Linked DNA regions of Homo sapiens: region 1 is linked to region 2. Evidence: promoter capture Hi-C in human tissues and cell types (Jung and others, 2019). All regions are on one chromosome and are shown on one strand. Each heading gives the region's core, a stretch centred on a gene start or on the middle of the fragment in contact. The rest is flanking DNA. Distances are from core to core; before and after follow the strand shown. Region 1 holds the start of DECR2 (2,4-dienoyl-CoA reductase 2). Region 2 holds the start of POLR3K (RNA polymerase III subunit K).

Evidence for each region. Contacts are between HindIII fragments. The study calls those that stand out against the background at their distance.
Region 1: the fragment with the promoter of DECR2 here is called in contact with the fragment with the promoter of POLR3K in region 2 in 2 of the 25 tissues and cell types used here (lymphoblastoid cells and spleen).

What each region holds. Positions count from the first base shown.
Region 1 is chr16:399,956-403,453 of GRCh38, forward strand. DECR2 (2,4-dienoyl-CoA reductase 2) reads left to right here and starts at 1,930. Exons shown (of 9, transcript NM_020664.4): 1 at 1,930-2,088. The coding sequence starts at 2,009. It overlaps NME4 (NME/NM23 nucleoside diphosphate kinase 4), which reads left to right. Exons shown (of 5, transcript NM_005009.3): 5 at 264-799. The coding sequence ends at 387. RefSeq lists enhancers at 753-1,062, 910-1,495. The HindIII fragment of the contact is 11,138 bases long and covers 697-3,498 here.
Region 2 is chr16:51,740-54,857 of GRCh38, forward strand. It overlaps POLR3K (RNA polymerase III subunit K), which reads right to left and starts at 1,869. Exons shown (of 3, transcript NM_016310.5): 1 at 1,737-1,869. The coding sequence starts at 1,847. It overlaps SNRNP25 (small nuclear ribonucleoprotein U11/U12 subunit 25), which reads left to right and starts at 2,089. Exons shown (of 5, transcript NM_024571.4): 1 at 2,089-2,319. The coding sequence starts at 2,278. RefSeq lists enhancers at 1,135-1,661, 1,390-1,549 and silencers at 1,880-2,199, 2,340-2,439. The HindIII fragment of the contact is 23,499 bases long and covers 1-3,118 here.

The DNA.
Region 1 (3,498 bases), core at 680-3,179, 350 kb after region 2:
ACCTGACACCCCAAGGGGTTGGCACGGGGCAACTTGGGGGGAAATGAGGCTCCCAAAAGCTGGGGCCTGGGCGGGTCCACGAGGCTGTAAGAGGCCGAGGCCAGGCTGGAACCCGGTTTCCCAGCTCCACTGTTACTCCTTCCCTGTCTGCAGTCACAGGCTTGCTCCCCTAGACAGAGGGCAACGGGAGCAGCAGATGGTCCCTGGGATTCCTCAGGGTGCACATGAAGCCTGAGCCTCACATTGCTCCTGTCCTGGCACAGGAATGTCATCCACGCCAGCGACTCCGTGGAGGGGGCCCAGCGGGAGATCCAGCTGTGGTTCCAGAGCAGTGAGCTGGTGAGCTGGGCAGACGGGGGCCAGCACAGCAGCATCCACCCAGCCTGAGGCTCAAGCTGCCCTTACCACCCCATCCCCCACGCAGGACCAACTACCTCCGTCAGCAAGAACCCAAGCCCACATCCAAACCTGCCTGTCCCAAACCACTTACTTCCCTGTTCACCTCTGCCCCACCCCAGCCCAGAGGAGTTTGAGCCACCAACTTCAGTGCCTTTCTGTACCCCAAGCCAGCACAAGATTGGACCAATCCTTTTTGCACCAAAGTGCCGGACAACCTTTGTGGTGGGGGGGGGTCTTCACATTATCATAACCTCTCCTCTAAAGGGGAGGCATTAAAATTCACTGTGCCCAGCACATGGGTGGTACACTAATTATGACTTCCCCCAGCTCTGAGGTAGAAATGACGCCTTTATGCAAGTTGTAAGGAGTTGAACAGTAAAGAGGAAGTTTTGCACACCCAGTTCCATAACGTTGTTGGATGTATGAGCCAGGCAGGGGTCCAGAGACCACCAGCCTGCAATCCGGAGAACCCAAGCTAGGCGCGAGCCGGTGCTGTGATCCCGCCAAAGGAGAAGCTGCCTTCCCGGGGAAGGGGCAGAGAGGGGCCGGCGGGCTGAGGCCAACCAGCGCAGAAAGGGCCTGGCAGCCATTACTGTAGCGCTGGCGGCTCTGTCACGCCCCTGAAGCCGCTGGCCCGCGGGTGTGTTCAGCTCAGGAGCGGCCCTGCGTGTTTTTCCCCCGTGGCCGTCGCGGACCCCCGTCTTCCAACAGTGGTGCGGGCGGGGCGCCCCGTCCTGGGTTCGCGGCATAGCCCCGCCCGGGCCCCCACGCGGAACAGAAGTAACGGACCCTTTTTTTTTTGTTTTTGTTTTTGAAACGGAGTGTCGCTCTGTCGCCCAGGATAGAGTGCAGTGGCGCGATCTCGGCTCACTGCAACCTCCGCCTCCCGGGTTCAAGCGATTCTCCTGCCTCAGCCTCCCGAGTAGATGGAACTACAGGCACCCGCCACAATGCCCGGCTAATTTTTGTATTTTTAGTAAAGAGGGGGTTTCGCCATGTTGTCCAGGATGGTCTCGAACTCCTGACCTCGTGATCCGCCCGCCTCGGCCTCCCAAAGTGTTGGGATTACAGGCGTGAGCCACCGCGCCCGGCCCCGGACCCTTCTTTATTGGCCTCAAAACGGGTCATTTTGGGAAGCGGCGCGGGGCTGGCCGCGCTTCCCTGGGCCCCGGCCCTCCCCATGGTGTTTACGGGGAGGCGAACGGGGAGCCCAGAGGCTGCGAGCCTGGCCTGGACCCAGGAGCCAGGGGTATCCCACAAGTCCTGGAGGCTCTGAACGCGGCGCTGACGCCGAATACCTGTGAAAAAGACTCGGGGAGGAGACCCGCAGACCGCCGAGCTTCTGCCGCGGGAACCGCGCCCCCGGCCCCGCAATGCGCCTGCGCCTCGCGCGCCGACTTCCAGTCCCAGCAGGCCGCGGGCGGGGGCGGGGCCTCCGGGGAGAATTCGGGGGAGGGGCGGGGCCTCCGGGAAGCAATCAGGGCAGGGGCGGGGCGTCCGGGGAGTGGGGCGGGGCTCCCGGTTCCAGGCGAGTTCGCAGCTGCGCGCCGGGTCCTGGAGGCCGAGGCCGCTCCCGCCCGTTGTCCCCGCAGTCCCCGACGGGAGCGCCATGGCCCAGCCGCCGCCCGACGTGGAGGGGGACGACTGTCTCCCCGCGTACCGCCACCTCTTCTGCCCGGACCTGCTGCGGTGAGCGGGGCCTGGGAAGCGAGCGCAGCCTTGGTGCGGGGTCCGGTCCGCGGGCGCCGGCGCCCCCACGTGGTCCCCGAGGGCTCGCGTGTTAGGAAACCTGTCTTGCCTGGCTCCTTTCTTTCTTTTTTCTTTCTTTTTTTTTTTTTGAGACGGAATCTCGCTGTGTCGCCCAGGCTGGAGTGCAGTGGCACGATCTCCGCTCACTGCAAACTCTGCCTCCCGGGTTCAAGCGATTCTCCTGCCTCAGCCCGGCTAATTTTTATTTTTAGTAGAGAGGGGGTGTCACCGTGTTGGTCAGGCTCTTTTCGAACTCCTGACCTCAGGTGATCCACCCGCCTCGGCTTCCCAAAGTGCTGGGATTTACAGGCGTGAGCCACCGCGCCCGGCCCAACCTGGCCTCTTTCTTAACAGAAAATTTTAGGTTGAAATCATTTTTCCGGAAGACCCAGAAGGCCCAGGAATGCCAGGTTTTGCCCAGCAGCTCTTCATTTTCCTGCAAACGCCTTGGTGTTCACAAGAGAAGGCAGCCCGGGCAAAGGTCGATCCTCCCCGGTCACCTGCCCTCACTCGGCTAATGGGCGGATCCTTTTTTTTTTTTCCTTTTCTTTTTTTCAATTGGCAACATTTTCAAGTTTCTATTAAAATTTTGATCTTTTGCCAGGAGCAGTGGCTCACGCCTGTAATCCCAGCTCTTTGGGAGGCCGAAGCGGGTAGATCACCAGAGGTCAGGAGTTCGAGACCAGCCTGGCCAACATGGTGAAACCCCGTCTCTGCTAAAAATACAAAAAATTAGCCGGGTGTGGTGGCGCACACCTGTAATCCCAACTACTTGGGAGGCTGAGGCAGGAGAATCACTTGAACTCGGGAGGTGGAGGTTGCAGTGAGCCGAGATCGCACCATTGCACTGGGCAACAAGAGTGAAACTCCATCTCAAAAAAAGAAAACAAGTTTTAAATTATGTTCTCCAAGGACAGGTATTGACAATTCTCTCTGAGTGTTCTGCAGGAAAAAAAAAAAGTTTTTTTTCGAAACGGAGTCTCATTCTGGGTTGAAGCAATTCTCCTGCCTCAGCCTCCCAATTCTCCTGCTTCAGCCTCAGTGCGCCCAAGTGGGACTATAGGCACACAATACCACGCTGGGCTAATTGTATTTCTAGTAGAGGTGAGTGTCACCATGTTGGTCAGGCTGGTCTGGAACTCCTGACCTCAGATGATCCACCTGCCTCGGCCTCCCAAAGTGCTGGGATGACAGGAGTGAGACGCTGCACCTGGCCCAAAATTAATCTTTAATAATTAAGAATAGGAAAGGCAACTTGGAGATCAGCAAAAGTTTGCCATCCATCTGGTACAGTTTGTGCCAGTCATACCGATCAGTACACATTTAATGCGTACAAGAAAATCTCTAATA
Region 2 (3,118 bases), core at 619-3,118:
GCTGGGCGTGGTGGCTGACACCTGTAATCCCAGCACTTTGGGAGGCCAAGACGGGCGGATCACGAGGTCAAGAGATCGAGACCATCCTGGCTAACACGGTGAAACCCTGTCTCTACTAAAAATACAAAAAATTAGCCCGGCGTGTTGGCGGGCGCCTGTAGTCCCAGCTACTCAGGAGGCTGAGGCAGGAGAATGGTGTGAACCTGGGAGGCGGAGCTTGCAGTGAGCCGAGATCACACCACTGCACTCCAGCCTGGGCTACGGAGCAAGACTCCATCTCAAAAAAAAAAAAAAACAAAGAGTTCACTCTTCCCGTAGTTTCAAACTCCAAACTCCCACAACACAGTACAAACTGGAGTAGCATGCAAACATTAAGACTGACGTAGCACCAACATATTCTAACTGCTAAAAAGTAAAGGTATTCTGGCCAGGCGTGGTGGCTCACGCCTATAATCCCAGCACTTTGGGAGGCCAAGGCAAGCGGATCACCTGAGGTTGGGAGTTCGAGACCAGCCTGGCCAGCGCGGTGAAACCCCGTCTTTACTAAAAATACAAAAATTAGCCGGGGATGGTGGCAGGCGCCTGTAATTCCAGCTACTCGGGAAGCCGAGGCAGAAGAATTGCTTGAACCCGGGAGGCAGAGGTTGCAGTGAGCCGAGATTACGCCATTGCACTCCAGCCTGGGAAACAGAGCGAGACTCTGTCTCAAAAAAAAAAAAAAAAAAAAAAAAAAAAAAAAAAAAAAAAAGGTCGGGCGCGGTGGCTCACGCCTGTAATCCCAGCACTTTGGGAGGCCGAGGCGGGCAGATCACGAGGTCAGGAGACCGTCCTGGCTAACACACGGTGAAACCCCATCTCTACTAAAAATACAAAAAAATCAGCCAGGGGTGGTGGCGGACGCCTGTAGTCCCAGCTAATTGGGAGGCTGAGGCAGGAGAGTGGCGTGAACCCGGGAGGCAGAGCTTGCAGTGAGCCGAGATCGCGCCACTGCACTCCAGCCTGGGCGACAGAGCGGGACTCCGTCTCAAAAAAAAAAAAAAAAAAAAAAAAAAAAAACAATAAAAAAAAATAAAGAAAGCACACAATACATTACATAATATATTAGAAGGTAATAAGCCCTATGGAAACAATTACAAAGGGAAGGAGAATAAATTGGAAGGAGGGGCTGAAATTTAAAATACGGTAAAGACAAGACCAATGAGTAAGGTGGCGATCTAGGGGAAGAGTGAACTGAGCAACAGCAAGTGCAAAGGCCCTGCTAGCACCATGAGCACGATGAGAGATCGTCCAGGAGGCGGTGTTGATGCGGCAAAGGGCAACAGGAAGGGCATTAGGACTTGAAATCGGAGACGCACGCAGGGGAGGGAGTCAGTGTCGGAACCTGGTAGGCCCTGGGAGAACTCCGGCTTTTCGTCTGCGTGAGCTGGAGAAGAGCCGAAGGTTTCTGCGCACAGCACGGACCTGCGTGCCTCAGCTTTAAGGAAATCACCGTGGCCGCCGCTGTGAACGCAGAGAAGGGCGCGAGCGTGGGAGCAGGAACCCAAGGCGGTGGGAAACGGTGGGGCTTTCTGAGTGTATTGGAAAGTAGAGCCCACAGATCTGCTGCAGACCAGAAAGGGGCGCGAGAAAGAGCGGACAGAGGCAGACGCCGGGGCTGGCGGCGATGGAGCAGCAGTCGGAGGACGCGGAAGGCCTGCGAGAGTCGCCCGCGCCCAGCGCCGGCCTTCGGGTCCCACCTTGCGGGTGATGTTGTGCACGTAGGGGCACGTGTTGCAGGCGAAGCGGTGGCAGCGTTGTCCCTCCTCCACGATCAGCCCGTTCCCGCAGCCGGGGCAGAACAGCAGCATGGTCTCGAACTCCGCAGGCTCCAACTCCCGGCAGCTCCCACTGCCGCTCAGCGCCGATGCGCCGCCCGCCTCGAGCTCACATTGGTCCTGGCAGCCTTCCCGCCACACCAACCAACCAATAGACAGGGCGATTCTGCGCTCCCGGCCCTGCTGCAGGCTGTCTCGCACTTGTCATTGGTCACTGCAGCCGCCCCACCCCCCCCGGCGCGCCAGTGGCTGGGCGGCCTCGCTGGGGCGGGCCGCAGTTCCTGCGCGTGCGCGCTTGGCCTCCCTAGTGCGGGCTGGCAGTGCGGGCAGAGCCCGGCTGAGAGGGGCGGCCCTGGAGGAGACGGAGGCCGCGGGTGGGCCCGAGGCGCAAGAGGAAGATGAGGACGAAGAAGAGGCGCTGCCGCACTCCGAGGCCATGGACGTGTTCCAGGAGGGTCTGGCTATGGTGGTGCAGGACCCGCTGCTCTGCGATCTGCCGATCCAGGTGTGTGCGGGCGGGGGCTGGGGGCGCGGGAGTCGTTCCCCGGGGTCCGGGCATCCGGGCGCCGGCAGCCTCCGAAGGTGCTGGTGGGAGACTGCGGCCCAAGGCTGAGGAAGGCGCCTCTGGGCGTAAACGAGGGTTTTAACCTTGACCGGGCGCACTCGCCTGGGGCGCGAAGCTTAAAGAGGAACCAAAAACCTCATTAGTGAGTGACATCAAATGACATTTTAATGTAATTGTATTTAGGGGGCTCGGGGGACAGGGTCTTGCTGCGTTGCCCGGGCTGGAGTGCAGCGGCGTCCTCCCACCTCAGCCTCCCGAGTAATTGGGACCACAGGTGCGCGCTACCACACCCGGCTAATTTTTAAATATTTTGTACAGAGGGAGTCTCACTATGTTGCCCAGGCTGATCTGAAACTCCTGGGCTCAGGCGATCCTCCTGCCTCGGCCTCCCAAAATGCTGGGATTTAGGTGTGAGCCACCCGCCTGGCCTGTAATACCTTTAAAAGTCAAAGTTGAGGCAAAAAAAGAGCCTACGGTAAAAGAAAAATTTAGTTTTAAATAAGAGCAAGATTAGTAGTACTGATTGTTCCATTTGCCTCAAGCGTCAATCATGTGTCAAAGCGTCAGTATCATGCTTTGGGACGATACTGTCTTTTTATTTATTTATTTATTTATTTGAGACTGAGTCTTGGTCCGTTGCCAGGCTGGAGTGTAGTGGTGCCATCTCGACTCACTGCAACCTCCCCCTCCCGGGTTCACTACAGGCACGCGCCACCACGCCCGGCTAATTTTTTGTATT